Regions from separate parts of the Homo sapiens genome. Here regions 2, 3, 4 and 5 are each linked to region 1. Evidence: promoter capture Hi-C in human tissues and cell types (Jung and others, 2019). All regions are on one chromosome and are shown on one strand. The core of a region is centred on a gene start or on the middle of the fragment in contact, and the rest is flanking DNA. Distances in the headings are between cores, read along the strand shown.

Region 1 (2,802 bases), core at 106-2,605:
TTACCTGCCCCCATGCCACCCCCACAACCATCCCCCCACAGCCCCCAAGTCTCTCTCCCCTCCCTGATCCCATGCCTGGTTCTCCAAGGAAGTGCCCAGCAGAGGGGAGGGAAGCCTTGTTGTTCAGCCCCAGGGTGGGCAGGCGGCAGGCACAGCTGCTGCCCTCAGCTCCTGCTCTGGCTTCCCCAGGGGCTGGCTCTGGCTGGCTGCTCCCTGACTCCCTTCCCCACCATAAGGCACAGCGTCTGTCCTGCTGTTGCCCAGCTGAAGTGCCATGTCCTCCTGGCTCCCTGCCAAGCACTCTGCCGGCCCTGAGGGCCTTGCCAAGCACAGGCCTGTGGAATCCTGGCCTTCCCAGCTGGCCCTGGCTGCAGCCAGATTCTCTGATCTTCTGATCTGAATGGAGATGCCTGGACAGGGGCTGCAGGAAACTAAAGCCCAATGCCTACTCCCACTGTGGAAGGGGCCAAAATCAGGCTGACTGAGGCATCATTGCTTGACCTGGGCCCTGGGGTCTCTCTTGGATGCAAGACTGTCCCGGTATGCTGTTAGGAACAGGGGCCTAGGTTGGTGACCTGAGGACAGGGGCTCTAGACCACACCAGGGAATCTTTCTGGGGGGAAGGCAGAAAACTTAGAGGCTGAACCCTCCTCCATGAGTCTAATCTCCAAAGGGCAAGTGTATGGTCAGTAAGGGTCTTTATTGGAAGAGAGATCCAGCCTCCTTGGCTCTGTCAGCGCCCTAGGTCATGAGGATTTCGATGTCAAGCTCCAGCCGGCTGGCTCTGACCTCATAGTGGCCCCGGATCAGGCCTCGGGTTTGGCTGGCATGCCAGCGCCAGTGAGACTGGATGATGCAGGCCGCTTGGCGTGCCTGGAGGAACCGCCTGCGGGCCTGCCACATTCGAACCTGTGCCTGCACCTTCACCACCGCCCACTCCTGGCAGGTATAGAGTCTTAGTGCCAGGCGCCGTCTTTGCTCCAACATCTTGGCCTGCATTGACCTCCACCAGCACTGGATGACCCAGGCTCTGAGTGCTGCCTGCAGTAACGTCCGGCGCACCATGTTTCCACGCCACCATGACTGAATCTTTATGGCTGTCTTCTCTAACTGATTGGGGGAAAGGAAAAACAGGGAGATGCTCAATGGGGGACCCTCCCCTCCTGTTCCTATCCCCATCTCTGATCTTGGGAGGAAAGAAGGCCTGGCCCAGGTGCCCCTGACTTCTTGTTTCTAGGGCCCATCCATCTTGTTTCCAATCCCCCACTCACATTTAGACACGGTTCATTACCTGTCAGGTAAGTCCCTACTGCAAGGGCCTTACTCACATTTTGCGTGTCCATGGCCTTGATCCTTAGGGTCCACTTATCTGTCACTTAGGCCACCCTTGTCTTTAGCCCCACCCTCAACTGTTAGTCACACCTCCATCATTGGACTCCGCCCACTTGCACACAAGACTCTACCTCATCAGGTCCCGTCTGCACGCATTTTAACCACATTTCTCTCTCCTCTTCTCTTGCTTTCATCTCTTTTGCTTTATTGATTCCCACCACTTTGGGAGCCTACCATTATCTCTTGCCTTCAGTTTATTTCTCAGCCCCAGTGGCATTCCTGATCCTCCTGATGGCAGTGAAGAGAGAGTCATGCAGCTTACCTACAAGGAAGGAGTTTTACTTTAAGCCTCTACTCATAGCCAATTTGGATTTCCTGAAGCTTAAGTGTCAGGGCGCCTGTCAGGGCCCGAGGAACGTGTTTACAGAGCTGTATATTTTTGGGTAAAATTTGTGAAAGCAAGATATTTCAGCTGCAATTGGAGAGGACCTCTGTCTCTCTTCCCTCTTACTCCCTCTGTCACTCACCTCCTGTTGAGTGGGGTGGAATGGCAACCTCTTTTGCCACGAGACTAAGGGAAGGCTGAGTTGGGATAGACTCAGTTTTTTTTTTTCTTTTTTTTTTTGAGACAGAGTCTCGCTCTGTCGCCCAGGCTGGAGTGTAGTGGCACAATCTCGGCTCACTGCAAGCTCCGCCTCCCAGGTTCAGGCCATTCTCCTGCCTCAGCCTCCTGAGTAGCTGGGACTACAGGTGCCCGCCACCACGCCCGGCTAATTTTTTGTCTTTTTAGTAGAGACGGGGTTTCACTGTGTTAGCCAGGATGGTCTCGATCTCCTGACCTCGTGATCCGCCCTCCTCTGCCTCCCAAAGTGCTGGGATTACAGGCGTGAGCCACCGCGCCCGGCCTAGACTCAGTTTAACAGCATAGATTTGTGTGGTTCACAGTCACCCTTGGGAACACATAAATCCTTGCTAGCCATTCTGCTGTTGCTGTGTTCATTCACCTTGCTCATGGCGTGAAGATGCAGGAACAGAAGGGCTGCTATCCAATAAGAACGTGTCTTCCAGTGCTGGCACCAAAAGTATTTGGGCAGGGGAGGAAAAGTAAATGTGAAAAGTATGGAACCAGAAGCCAGTCTGTAGAAAATTCTTCCTGTTATTAGATGTGTAAAACTATAAGTGGAAGATTCAAGTCTCATTGATGCCTGATTAAAATTGAAGCTCTCTCTTTTCAGGAATATACTTGACAATGCAATGATACAATTTTAAACATTTCCATACTTTTTTCTTTTCTTGGTGGGAATTTTGTGAAATAGAATTTATCTGAATTCCTGTGATTGTAGGGCACAACCAGCAGAGCTACTGTAAACAACGTGGAAGTCAGTGTGAAAAATCACATGCTTTATGCATACCAAATGTCAATCATAAGAATATTTCTGTAGACAATGCAGTTGTAAAATCATCCTATGA
Region 2 (2,802 bases), core at 126-2,625, 110 kb after region 1:
TTGAAGCAGATGTTAGCCCATGATTGAAAATTTTCTTCTGCAGATGCTTTGTCTCCTTTTTTTTTAATTGAAAATTTAGTTTTCTCTTGCCCTTGCCTTCATTTTTTTTCCCCCTTTCCTTCCTGAATCACTCCGTCAGTCTGAAATCCTCAGGCTGGGCAGTGCAACATAGCTGCACCAGGGGGAAAGAGAGCCACCATGGAACAGAGCCAGGTGAGGGAGGGTCACAAGACAGAGGAGGAAAGCATTGTTCTAGGAGGGACCAGTATGGAACCCAGGCAGTGGGAGGAGGAGTTCACACAGGGATGTAAGTCCATACCAGTAATAGCGTCATATTGGGCAGGATGAGAAGGGCATCCTTGGTGGCATAGACCATCAGAACTTGAGCACAGTGAGGAGGATATCCACGCAGAGGGTAGCCTGACATTTTGTGTCAGCTCAGGTTGGGTGAAAGAGCATTTACCCCAGTCGTCAGACCAATGTAGGGAGCCACAGCCTGAGCCACAAGAAGAGGACAATAGACGGCATCGTATATCAGAGATCAAGAGAAATGGGCCATTGTCTCTGTGAGAGAGGGGCCAGCAGTAGCTGTGCAGAATTAGTTGCACAAAGGGAAGATCAAATAAGAAAATGTATTAAAGATCATGGGAGCTAGGGGTGTCATTCTCAGAAAAGAAGAGGTAGAAATATGGAAAGGAGGCCGGGCACAGTGGCTCACACCTGTAATCCCAACACTTGGAGGCCGAGATGGGTGGATCACTTGAGGTCAGGAGTTCACGACCAGCCCAGCCAACATGGCAAAACCCTGTCTTTACTAAAAATACAAAAATTAGCCAGTCGTTGTGGTGGCCGCCTATAATCCCAGCTACTCGGGAGGCTGAGGCAGGAGAATTGCTTGAACCAGGGAGGCGGAGGTTGCAGTGAGCCGAGATTGTGCCAGTGCATTCCAGCCTGGGCAACAAAGCCAGACTCCATCTCAAAAAGGAAAGAAAAGAAAAGAAATATGGAAAGGAGAAAACTAGAGTGAATTCTTAAATTTGGGATTGGAGGTATCAGTGTGAGCTCACAGATTTCCATATAGATAGGCACAGAAATGAACACAGATATAAATGTGCGATGCTTGTGCATATACACAAACATGTATTTCCTGGCTCTGTCCACTGAGGAGGCCTGGGAGTGGGAGTACCTCAACAATGATGAGCATGCCTCCATATGCTCTGCTGGGCCACTCCAGCTGACCCCAGAATTGGCTGCTTTTTCCATGGCTACCAGTATTTAAGGCTTGTTTGTGACCCCTTTCCTTGTTTTGATGCTGATGCAGAATTATTTTTTAGCTTTATTGAGGTATAATTAACAAAGTTAAATACAATGTAGGTGTACAAACTTGATGTTTTGAAGATGCTAGTTTTTATGGTGCTTGACTGTTTACCCTGGAAGGTGGGGAAGGTTAGCACCAGTTCACAGCTCAGGACACTGGTCTCAGAGAGGGGAAATCACTTGTCTATGGCCACAGGGCAATGAGAGGTGGAGCAGTCAGAGGTCAGAGCTCTGTGCCCTGATACTCTGAACACAGGACAACAGGGGCAAGGAGAAAGACAAGAATCCTTCAGAGTGGGTATGAGAGACCCAGGCCCTGAATGAGACACAAGGGGCAGGACATGGCAGGACAGAGCAGGAAATACAGAGCTCATGCTCGAGAGCTAGAGCCTGAGACTTCTGGGCAGCATCTCAGAACATCTATGAGCTGAGGGACCAGCTCTCCAGGGCACAGTCACTGAAGCAGGGCTGGACATAGGGCTGTGACCCAGACCTCAGAATCCTCCCTCTGTGCAGGGAACCACAGGACAGGGACAGCAGTGTTGACAGGCAGATGTTCAGCCTAATCTTAACCTCTTTTTTTGTTGTTATTAATTTTTTAATTTATAATTGACAATAATTATACATAATTATGGGGTACAATGTTATATTTCAATGCATGTATATATACTATAATGACCAAATTGGGATATTTACCATATCCATCACTTTAAACATTTATCATTTCTTTGTAGTGACAACATTCAAAATCTTTTTTTAAGTATCTAGAAATATATACTACATTGTTACCTGCTAAATGGCAAACAGGTATATGAAAAATTGTTCAACATCAGTAATCATCAGAGTAATGCAAATCTTCACCTCTTATTTGGCCCTTATCATCACCTGGGCCCCAACCCCACCCCAGCTGGCAGCATTTCACAGGGAGGGACTTTCAGAGGAGCCAGCTCTGCCTGGATTGGCCCTTGCAGAAGTTGGGCCAGTGGGGAGGGTAAGGAACACAAAACTAATGCCTCCTCAGCTCCTGCAGCTGTGATAGCCTGAGGTCTAACACTCACCAGAGGGTTGGGTTGGCAGCAAAATGCCCTCTCTCCCACCCCCTTGCCTGTGGAACCTCCCATACCAGCCTGGTCTGGAGGAAAATGAGTCCTAGTTTTCATACGGGGCTCGAGGGCAAGGGACAGTTGGGGTTTGGGGTTAGGATGAGGACTTGAGTTATGCTAACAGCTTCCAGTTTGGGTCTCAGATTCTTAGAAGCCAAGTATAAGGACATAGCCCCCAGTGCAGCAGGGAGACAAGATCACAGGGCTTGGGGTTGGGGGGCTCCTCTCAGTCCTAGGGGTTGGGGAACAAGCCCTGAGCAACTAGACCCAGACGAGTGAATTCCTGGAGAATGTGTTGCCATTGCCATGACCACCACCCGCCAGGCTTCCATTATACCAAGTCCTAGGGAGGGTGCACTATGTACACAGAATGATGTAAATA
Region 3 (2,802 bases), core at 59-2,558, 96 kb after region 1:
GACCAGGTAGGTGTCCCCCCTCTGCCACCCACAGGTTAGTGGATGTGCTCACCTCACTTGACCTCTGAGTTTCAATGTCCCCATCTGCAAAATAGGTGTACATCTGCCCTAGCTACCTCATTCCATTTTCCATGGACCTTGCTGGCCAGTCTAGAGCAAGAACACTGTGACTTAGAGGTAAAAGAGCTGCCATCTACCTGGGATCCATGACTCTTCCCTTCAGAGCCCTCCCATCCGCTGAAGAAGTGGTGTCCTTTGCTCCTCCTGCCCTCTTTACTCTGACTTCAAGTCAAACCCACAAGCTGCTGTGTTCCTTCCTCCTCACCAAAGTGGTAACAGATTCCTCCACCTCACACACATTGTGAACAGCTTGAACTTCAGCTATGCATGCATCTGTACAAACATGCACACTCCACACACTAACACACATTTTGCCCCTTGGTCCTGCATTCCCCACAGTCCCCACTTGCAGCCCCCAGCCCTATATGGTCCGGGATCACACTCCTCTGCCCCACTCCTGGCCACAGTCTCCACTCCGTATCTCAGCCAGACTCACATCTCTCCGCCTGACAAGAAAATGGGGGCAAGAGACAGCCAGTCCCCATTCATTCCAGCTCTGCATACCCTGACGTTTCACCCCAGTTTTTCTGGAACACCCTGATTGATGTCAGGTAATGAGGACAGGTGCCTGTTTCCCTCACTGAAGCCACTCTTTGTACAATAAATTACAGGGTCATAGATCTTTGAGTCACTCTGCTGGACCACAGGGGTCAGAGATGTCACTAGTTAAGGCTCTCTGGACCCAGCCACTCACGGAGTTGTGGGTAAGGGTGTGGCCTGGTAGGGGTGAGGGTGTTGGGGGTGGAGTCGCTTCCCTCTTCTCCCCTTTGTTCCTTCCAGCTCTGTTCTATCGATGTGATTTCATCATTATGTTTAATGATCATTTAAAACAGCTTGCCATCCTTCTGGAATCAGAGTGTATGGGGGGAAATAGGGAAGAAAGTGAAAGGTGCTCTCCCACTGCTAGGTGCCAAGTCAAACACCATTCTCACTGTTTCTAGACAGCTTCCTGGCTTTCTCTAGGACTTCAAACATGGAGGGGGGTCCTGTCATGAGTAACTGTGGGGAACTTACTCTCCCCTCAGAAAGCTAGTGTGGTTCTGACTGCCTCTTACAAAACATCTGACTGGGGACAGGTCGTAAAATTCGCACAGGTCTGGACTTTACTAAATTACCCATGGTTAGGGGCTAGATGGTCCCATCACCCTCCGGCCCGCACTCCTCCGATCAGGACTCCAACAGGAAGAGTGGAGGAAGGGCGGGACCTGTGATGTCATAAGGGCACCTGTGATGCAGGCACCAGGACAGCTTCCAGCATATGAGCCTCTTCTAAGGAAAACCTAGAAGACCCCAAGTACTGACCCATTGACACAAAGGTATATAATGCTGCTCATTAAAATCTGGCTGGTATTCATTAAATGCCTTTCAGTTCCTTTACACCCTGGTATTCCAAATAACTATTAGAATGGGTTTGCTCTCTATGTACAGATATAGAAAAGTACAAGATTTCATAAGTGAATCAAATCAAGATGAAAGGCAAGGTGATCCCAATATAAACACACATTTATACACATGTGCTGTAAAGGCATTATCTTAAAAAGGGGGGATAGAAGGATGTACACAAAAACTAACAATATCTCTGATGAGGACGGTGGAATTGGAGGGACACGAAAAACTCCTTCACTGTTGCTAAGCCCCCTATGTCTGACCTATCTGCAGGTCAGTCTGTTTTTAGGCACCTGAGAGGACAGGACACACACAGGCCAGAAAACTCCTTGAGGCCCCCAGGACTAGCCTGGGCTCCATCCAAAGCTCAAATGGGTTAAAGTGCTCTCCTGTCTTCCTCTGTCCCTGAGCACCTCAAGGCCACGATCAGATAGATGAGGGTGGCCTCTGCAGAAGCAGGGCCCCTTTCTGCCTGATTGCAACCTCTTAAGACCCAGCTGGACGTGGTGAGGCACAGCCCCCGTGGTCACTGAGGAATGCACTGGGAATGTGTAGGGTGAGTATGGGAGAGGCCGATGTGGATCTGTAGGGGGAATGTAGGGAAGAGGAGGAGGTGCTTTGAGGATGGCGGGGGTGTCAGTTTGAAGTTAATGGAATGAGGGAGTGGGGAAGACAGCAATGAGGTGGGGGATGGGGAAATAGTGGGGTACAATGTGTAGGACAGAGAGGGAGCAGGAAGCACCTATTTGAAGATAAAGATCTTGGCCAGGCCCCCGGGAGACCTCTGTCAATTTAGTGCCTCCATCAGTCTGGCTCCTGAGTCAAGCCACTAGTCACCACATTCCTGTCCGTGGTAATAGCAATGCAGTGATATTAGTCCCACTTCGCAATGGAGGTGCAGAGATCATGCCTGGCTCACGTCACCCTGTTTCATAGCTGGTCAGCTGTGGAGCTAGCATTTGGTCCCAGCTCTGCTCCACCCTGAGCCTTGGCTCTAAACCACCACATCATGCAGACCCCAGCATCTCCATGTTTTCCCAAAGCTTCCGGTTCTCATCGTTTCTAGAAAAATCCCGCTAAAAAACCTCCATCCTGAATCTTAAAAAATTAGCCAAGCAAAAGAAGCCAGACTCTGAAGAAGGCACACTGTGAATCCATGTGTGTGCACTGCAGTGGGGACAGCTGTCGTCAATGGGGACACAGCAGTGGTTGCCCAGACTTTGAGATGGAGACTGAATGGGAACTATGTGGGTAATGGAATGTTCTAGATTTTTTCTTTCTTTCTTTCTTTTTCTT
Region 4 (2,802 bases), core at 91-2,590, 86 kb before region 1:
CACTGGAACCTGCTCCTTAGCCTCTCTGGCTTTACCCCACCTCCCTCCCTTCCCCCAGGAATGAAAGCACAAAGCCAGCCTTTGCTAGGGCGGCGTGGGAGCCACCACTCTCAAAATACCAGCTCGGATATTGTAGCTTGGCAGCCCTGCAGGACCCTGGGGGCTGAAGCTTGTCTGGATGGTGCTGTGGGGTTGGGCTGTCACCAGTCCAGAGGGAGCCTTCTTCCCCAGGCAGATGGAATTTACTTATCAAAGAAGAATTCTGTTGCTCTTCTCCAGGAAGCTTGAGATTGGAATTAGGGAGGGGAAAGAGATTCCAAGGAGAGAATTTGCAGTGCACCCCCTCTCCCCCAAGCAGAACAACTTCTTCTTCAGCTGAGCCCTCAGATTAGGAGAGGCTAGCTGTCTAGTTATGCAGGTGGGAAGGAAAGGACTTCACTGAGGAGTGGAGCAGAGGTCAGAGGTACCAGTTGGAGATGAGAAATTCAGGGCCTTCTCCTTCTCTCCCTCTCTTCTGTCCCCTGTCTCCTCTCCATTCCCACTTGCCCACTTGTCCTTCCCCTCTGGCAATTCCTGACTCCTCTGGCTCTCAGGTGCTTGGCTTCCCAGCTCCATCTGTACGAGCAGCCTTCCTGCTGCTGGATAATCATCAGCAACCAGTTTGTCAGCTTGTGAGCAGGACAGGGCTCAAGGTCCTTGACTACACAGACAAGCTGCTAAGAATGCTGGATCTTGGAGAGGGGGTGGGCTGTGGAGCCTGCGATGGTAGAGCCATCATCTGGAAGGCTGTGGCTCTCCTCCCAGATTTGCAAGGGAGAGCAATGGGATCAGGGCTGACTCACCCAGTGCTCTAGCTGAGCTCTCCTTGGGGTACTCACTCCTGTACTCCCCAACCCTCTGGTCTGGCCACACAACGGCCCAGGCCCAAGAAGGCCAGAGCAGGGCTGAACCAGGGTTGTATCTTGGCCCTCTGGGCCTAGAGAAAGGTAAGGCTGGGTATGGATGCAGGATTAGGGGCCTCCCAGTCCATCTGGGCACTAAGGTGCTTAAGAGCCTGTGTCCCATGTGCCTGCTTAGAGGGAAACATTGTTTCCCCACCCCTCAATACCCCAGGCTGCCCTGTGCTTGACTGCTGCCTAGGCCCTCCTCCACAGGACACCGAGGAAGCCAGGGCCTGCGTCGTGCCAGGGAGATGAATAGAGGTGTAAATTGTGTGGTGAGCTGCCGGCTCTGAGGTGAAAATGAAAAGTCTTCAGGCAGTGGCGGCAGCAGGCGCAGCAGGCTGGGGTGCCAGGCACAGCACACCGTCTCCCGCCCCATTCTCTCTCACACCTTCCCACTCCTGCAGTCTTCCCCAGGTTCCCACCCAGGCCTGGACCTGCCTCCCTGGCTCCTCTGCCATTCCCTGCCTTTCAGCCGGTGGCTCCCAGGCTGGCCCTGGGCTCGACCTAACCCCAAGAGGGCCATTATATCTCGTTTCCATTATGTTTTTTTTTTTTTTTTTTTTTGAGACAGAGTCTCATTCTGTCACACAGGCTGGAGTGCGGTGGCACGATCGCGGCTCACTGCAACCTCTGCCTCCCGGATTCAAGCAATTCTTCTGCCTCAGCCTCCCAAGTAGCTGGGACTACAAGCATCCGACACCACGCCCAGCTAATTTTTGTATTTTTAGTAGAGATGGGGTTTCACCATGTCAGCCAGGCTGGTCTCGAACTCCTGACCCCAGGTGATCTGCCCACCTTGGCCTCCCAAAGTGCTGGGATGACAGGCGTGAGCCACCACTCCCGGCCTCCATTATGTTTTCTACTTGGCTGATCTGTTGCACAGAAAAATGGGCTGTGCTTGAGTTACCTTTGTGACTTAATGTTTGTGGTAGTCCCTCCATTGATTCTTTTTGGGTTTTCTGAGTATAGTTTTCTTACCGTCACATAATGGTGTTTTTATTCATCCTTTCCAGTTCCTCACTTCTTTTGAGATCATCTATTCTAATCCCTTTCTTTCCTTCCTTCCTTCCTTCCTTCCTTCCTTCCTTCCTTCCTTCCTTCCTTCCTTCCTTCCTCCCTTCCCTTCCCTTCCCTTCCCCTTCCTTCCGTCCGTCCTTCCTTCCTTCCTTCCTTCCTTCCTTCCTTCCTTCCTTCCTTCCTTCCTTCCTTCTTTCCTTCTTTCTTGTTTTGCTCTGTTGCCCGGGCTGGAGTGCAGTGGCGCGATCTCGGCTCACTGCACCTCCATCTCCCGCATTCAAGCAATTCTCCTGCCTCAGCCTCCCGGGTAGCTGGGATTACATGCACCTGTCACCACACCTGGTTAATTTTTGTATTTGTAGTAGAGACAGGGTTTCACTATGTTGGCCAGGCTGGTCTGAAACTTGTGACCTCAAGTAATCCACCCGCCTTGACCTCCCAAAGTGCTAGGATTGCAGGCATGAGCCACCGCGCCTGGCCAAAGAGGGAAAGAGGGAGGGAACGATAGGCCAAAAGCCTACAGCACCCGGTATTCCAGGCAGTCTCCCATCCAAGTACTAACTAGACCCGACCTTGCTTAGCTTCTGAGATCAGACAAGATCAGGTGCATTCAGGGTGGTATGACTGTAGACCCTTTATTTCATACTTGGGCAAATTGAGGGCCAGAGGGAAGCTACCGATTTGTGTAGCCAAGCCAATGCCCTAGGCTCCTGCCTGGGGTGCTCTCTGCCACTTCCTGCTTCCTCTTTTCCCTCCCTGGCCATCCTGTCTTACTCCCTGTCTCCTTTGCCTGCCATTTTCAGAGCTTTGGGCTCTGCTGGTGTGAGGGGAGAGTAGAGAG
Region 5 (2,802 bases), core at 103-2,602, 76 kb after region 1:
GGAATAGTTCTTGGAGTCCTTACTCAGATTCATGGGACAACCCCACATCAGTGGCATACCTAAGTAAGGAAATTGATGTAGTAGCAAAAGGCTGGCCTCACTGTTTACAGGTAGTTGTGGTGGTGGGAATCTTAGTGTCAGAGGCTATCAAAATAATACAAGGAAAGGATCTCACTGTCTGGACTACTCATGATGTAAATGGTTTACTAGATGCCAAAGGAAGTTTATGGCTATCAGACAGCCGCCTGCTTAGATACCAGGCGCTACTCCTTGAGGGACCGGTGCTTCAAATACACACATGTATGGCCCTCAACTCTGCCACTTTTTTCCCAGAGAATGGGGAAACCAATCAAGCATGACTGCCAACAAATTATAGTCCAGACTTATGCCGCCCAAGATGATCTCTTAGAAGTCCCCTTAGCTAATCCTGACCTTAACCTATATACCGATGGAAGTTTATTTATGAAGAATGGGATATGAAGGGCAGGTTATGCCATAGTTAGTGATGTAACCATACTTGAAAGTAAGCCTCCTCCCCCAGGGACCAGCACCCAGTTAGGAGAACTAGTGGCACTTACCCAAGACTTAGAACTGGGAAGGGGAAAAAGAATAAATGTGTATACAGATAGCAAGTATGCTTATCTAATCCTACATGCCCATGCTGCAATATGGAAAGAAAGGGGGTTCCTAACCTCTGGGGGAACCCCCATTAAATACCACAAGGAAACCATGGAATTATTGCATGCAGTGCAAAAACCCAAGGAGGTGACAGTCTTACACTGCCAAAGCCATCAAAAGGGGAAGGAGAGGGGAGAACAGCAGCATAAGTGGCTGGCAGAGGCAGGGAAAGACCAGCAGAAAGGAAAGAGAGAAAGAGACAGAAAGTCAGAGAGAGAGAGAGAGGAAGAGAGAGACAAAGAGGGAGTCAGGGAGAGAGAGAAAGAGAGACACAGAAAGTCAAAGAGAGAGAGGAAGAGACAGACAAAGACGGAGTCAGAAAGAGAGAGACAAAGAAGAAGTCAAAGAGAAAGAGAGATAGAAGTAGTAAAGAAAAAACAGTGTACCCTATTCCTTTAGAAGCCAGGGTAAATTTAAAACCTATAATTGATAATTGAAGGTCTTCTCTGTAACCCTATAACACTCCAATACCACCTTGTTGTCAGTGTAAACAAGGGTATAGCCTGAAAGCACTGAGGCCACTGACAACACGTAGGCTTCCTATCAAAAATCCTTAACCCAGCAGGTTTCCTAACAGGGGATCTAAATCTTAATTAATTACCATACAAAGGTCAGACCAGATCTAGGAGGAACTCCCTTCAGGACAGGACGATAGATGGTTCCTCCCAGGCAATTAAGGAAAAAAGACACAATGGGTATTCAGTAAATGATAAGGAAACTCGTGTAGAAGCAGAGTTAGGAAAATTGGCTAATAATTGGTCTGCTCAAATGTGTGAGCTCTTTGCACTCAGCCAAACCTCAAAGAACTTACAGAATCAGGAAGGAGCCATCTATACCAATTCTAAGTTAATATGGACTGAACAAAGTCTTATTAATAGCAAAGAATAATTGAAATCCCAAACTTACAAGGTTTTCAACAAAAGTAAAGTTTGCTAAAAGTTAACAGTGTAAACATATATCATCCTAACTTCTAATCTTGTGGAAATCAGACCCTATCAGTACCCCTCAAAGCTCAAGTCCATCAGCACAGAGCCATACAACTAATACCCCTACTTATAAGGTTAGGAATGGCTACTGCTACAGGAACCGGAAGAGCCAGTTTATCTATTTCATAATCCTACTACCACACATTCTCAAAGGATTTCTCAGACAGTTTGTAAGAAATAATGAAATCTATCCTTACTCTAAAATCCCAAATAGACTCTTTGGCAGCAGTGACTCTCCAAACTGCCAAGGCCTAGACCTCCTCACTGCTGAGAAAGAAGGACTCTGCACCTTCTTAGGAGAAGAGTGTTGTTTTTACACTAACCAGTCAGGGAGAGTACAAGATGCCACCCGGCATTTACAGGAAAAGGCTTCTGAAATCAGACAATGCCTTTCAAACTCTTATACCAACCTCTAGAGTTGGGCAACATGACCTCTTCCCTTTCTAGGTCCCATGGCAGCCATCTTGCTATTACTCGCCTTTGGGCCCTGTATTTTTAACCTCTTTGTCAAATTTGTTTCCTCTAGGATCGAGGCCATTGAGCTACAGATGGTCTTACAAATGGAACCCCAAATGAGCTCAACTAACAACTTCTACCAAGGACCCCTGGACCAACCTGCTGGCCCTTTCACTGGCCTAAAGTGTTCCCCTCTGGAGGACATTAAAACTGCAGGGCCCCTTCTTCACCCCTGTCCAGCAGGAAGCTGCTAGAATGGTCATTGCCCAATTCCCAACAGCAGTTGGGTTGTCCTGTTTAGAGGGGGGATTGAGAAGTGAAGCCAGCTGGGCTTCTGGGTCAGGCGGGGACTCAGAGAACTTTTCTGTCTAGCTAAAGGATTGAAAACACACCAATCAGCACTCTGTGTCTAGCTAAAGGTTTGTAAACGCACCAATCAGCACTCTGTAAAAACGCACCAATCAGCACTCTGTGTCTACCTAAAGGTTTGTAAATGCACCAATCAGTACTCTGTAAAAACGCACCAATCAGTGCTCTGTGTCTAGCTAAAGTTTGTAAACACATCAATCAGCACTCTGTAAAAAGGGACCAATCAGCACTCTGAAAAATGGACCAATCAGTGCTCTGTAAAAGGGACTAATCAGCAAGACATGGGCGGGGCCAAATAAGGGAATAAAAGCTG

What was found. The method cuts DNA at HindIII sites, captures the fragments that hold promoters and counts their contacts. A contact is called where the count stands out against the background at its distance.
Region 2: a contact is called between a fragment that was not itself captured here and the fragment with the promoter of IQCF6 in region 1, in 7 of the 25 tissues and cell types used here (IMR-90 fibroblasts, dorsolateral prefrontal cortex, heart right ventricle and 4 more).
Region 3: the fragment with the promoter of IQCF5 here is called in contact with the fragment with the promoter of IQCF6 in region 1 in 2 of the 25 tissues and cell types used here (heart right ventricle and thymus).
Region 4: a contact is called between a fragment that was not itself captured here and the fragment with the promoter of IQCF6 in region 1, in 3 of the 25 tissues and cell types used here (H1 embryonic stem cells, ovary and pancreas).
Region 5: a contact is called between a fragment that was not itself captured here and the fragment with the promoter of IQCF6 in region 1, in 2 of the 25 tissues and cell types used here (adrenal gland and thymus).

The regions. Positions count from the first base shown.
Region 1 is chr3:51,777,882-51,780,683 of GRCh38, forward strand. It overlaps IQCF6 (IQ motif containing F6), which reads right to left and starts at 1,356. Exons shown (of 2, transcript NM_001368369.1): 1 at 1,272-1,356; 2 at 682-1,110. The coding sequence starts at 1,343. The coding sequence ends at 742. All of the region lies in intron 2 of LOC105377087 (a long non-coding RNA gene), which reads left to right. The HindIII fragment of the contact is 12,191 bases long and covers 1-2,802 here.
Region 2 is chr3:51,891,845-51,894,646 of GRCh38, forward strand. No RefSeq gene overlaps it. Among named protein-coding and RNA genes, the nearest start is that of IQCF1, 10 kb to the right of the region's middle. The HindIII fragment of the contact is 5,841 bases long and covers 1-2,802 here.
Region 3 is chr3:51,874,293-51,877,094 of GRCh38, forward strand. IQCF5 (IQ motif containing F5) reads right to left here and starts at 1,309. Exons shown (of 2, transcript NM_001145059.2): 1 at 1,236-1,309. The coding sequence starts at 1,239. IQCF5-AS1 (IQCF5 antisense RNA 1) reads left to right here. Exons shown (of 3, transcript NR_109984.1): 2 at 1-6; 3 at 96-1,475. The HindIII fragment of the contact is 13,062 bases long and covers 1-2,802 here.
Region 4 is chr3:51,691,990-51,694,791 of GRCh38, forward strand. The region is part of intron 3 of TEX264 (testis expressed 264, ER-phagy receptor); the gene reads left to right. It also overlaps the pseudogene RNA5SP132. Among named protein-coding and RNA genes, the nearest start is that of GRM2, 14 kb to the right of the region's middle. RefSeq lists an enhancer at 1-496. The HindIII fragment of the contact is 3,839 bases long and covers 1-2,802 here.
Region 5 is chr3:51,853,814-51,856,615 of GRCh38, forward strand. No RefSeq gene overlaps it. Among named protein-coding and RNA genes, the nearest start is that of IQCF2, 6.4 kb to the right of the region's middle. The HindIII fragment of the contact is 3,432 bases long and covers 1-2,802 here.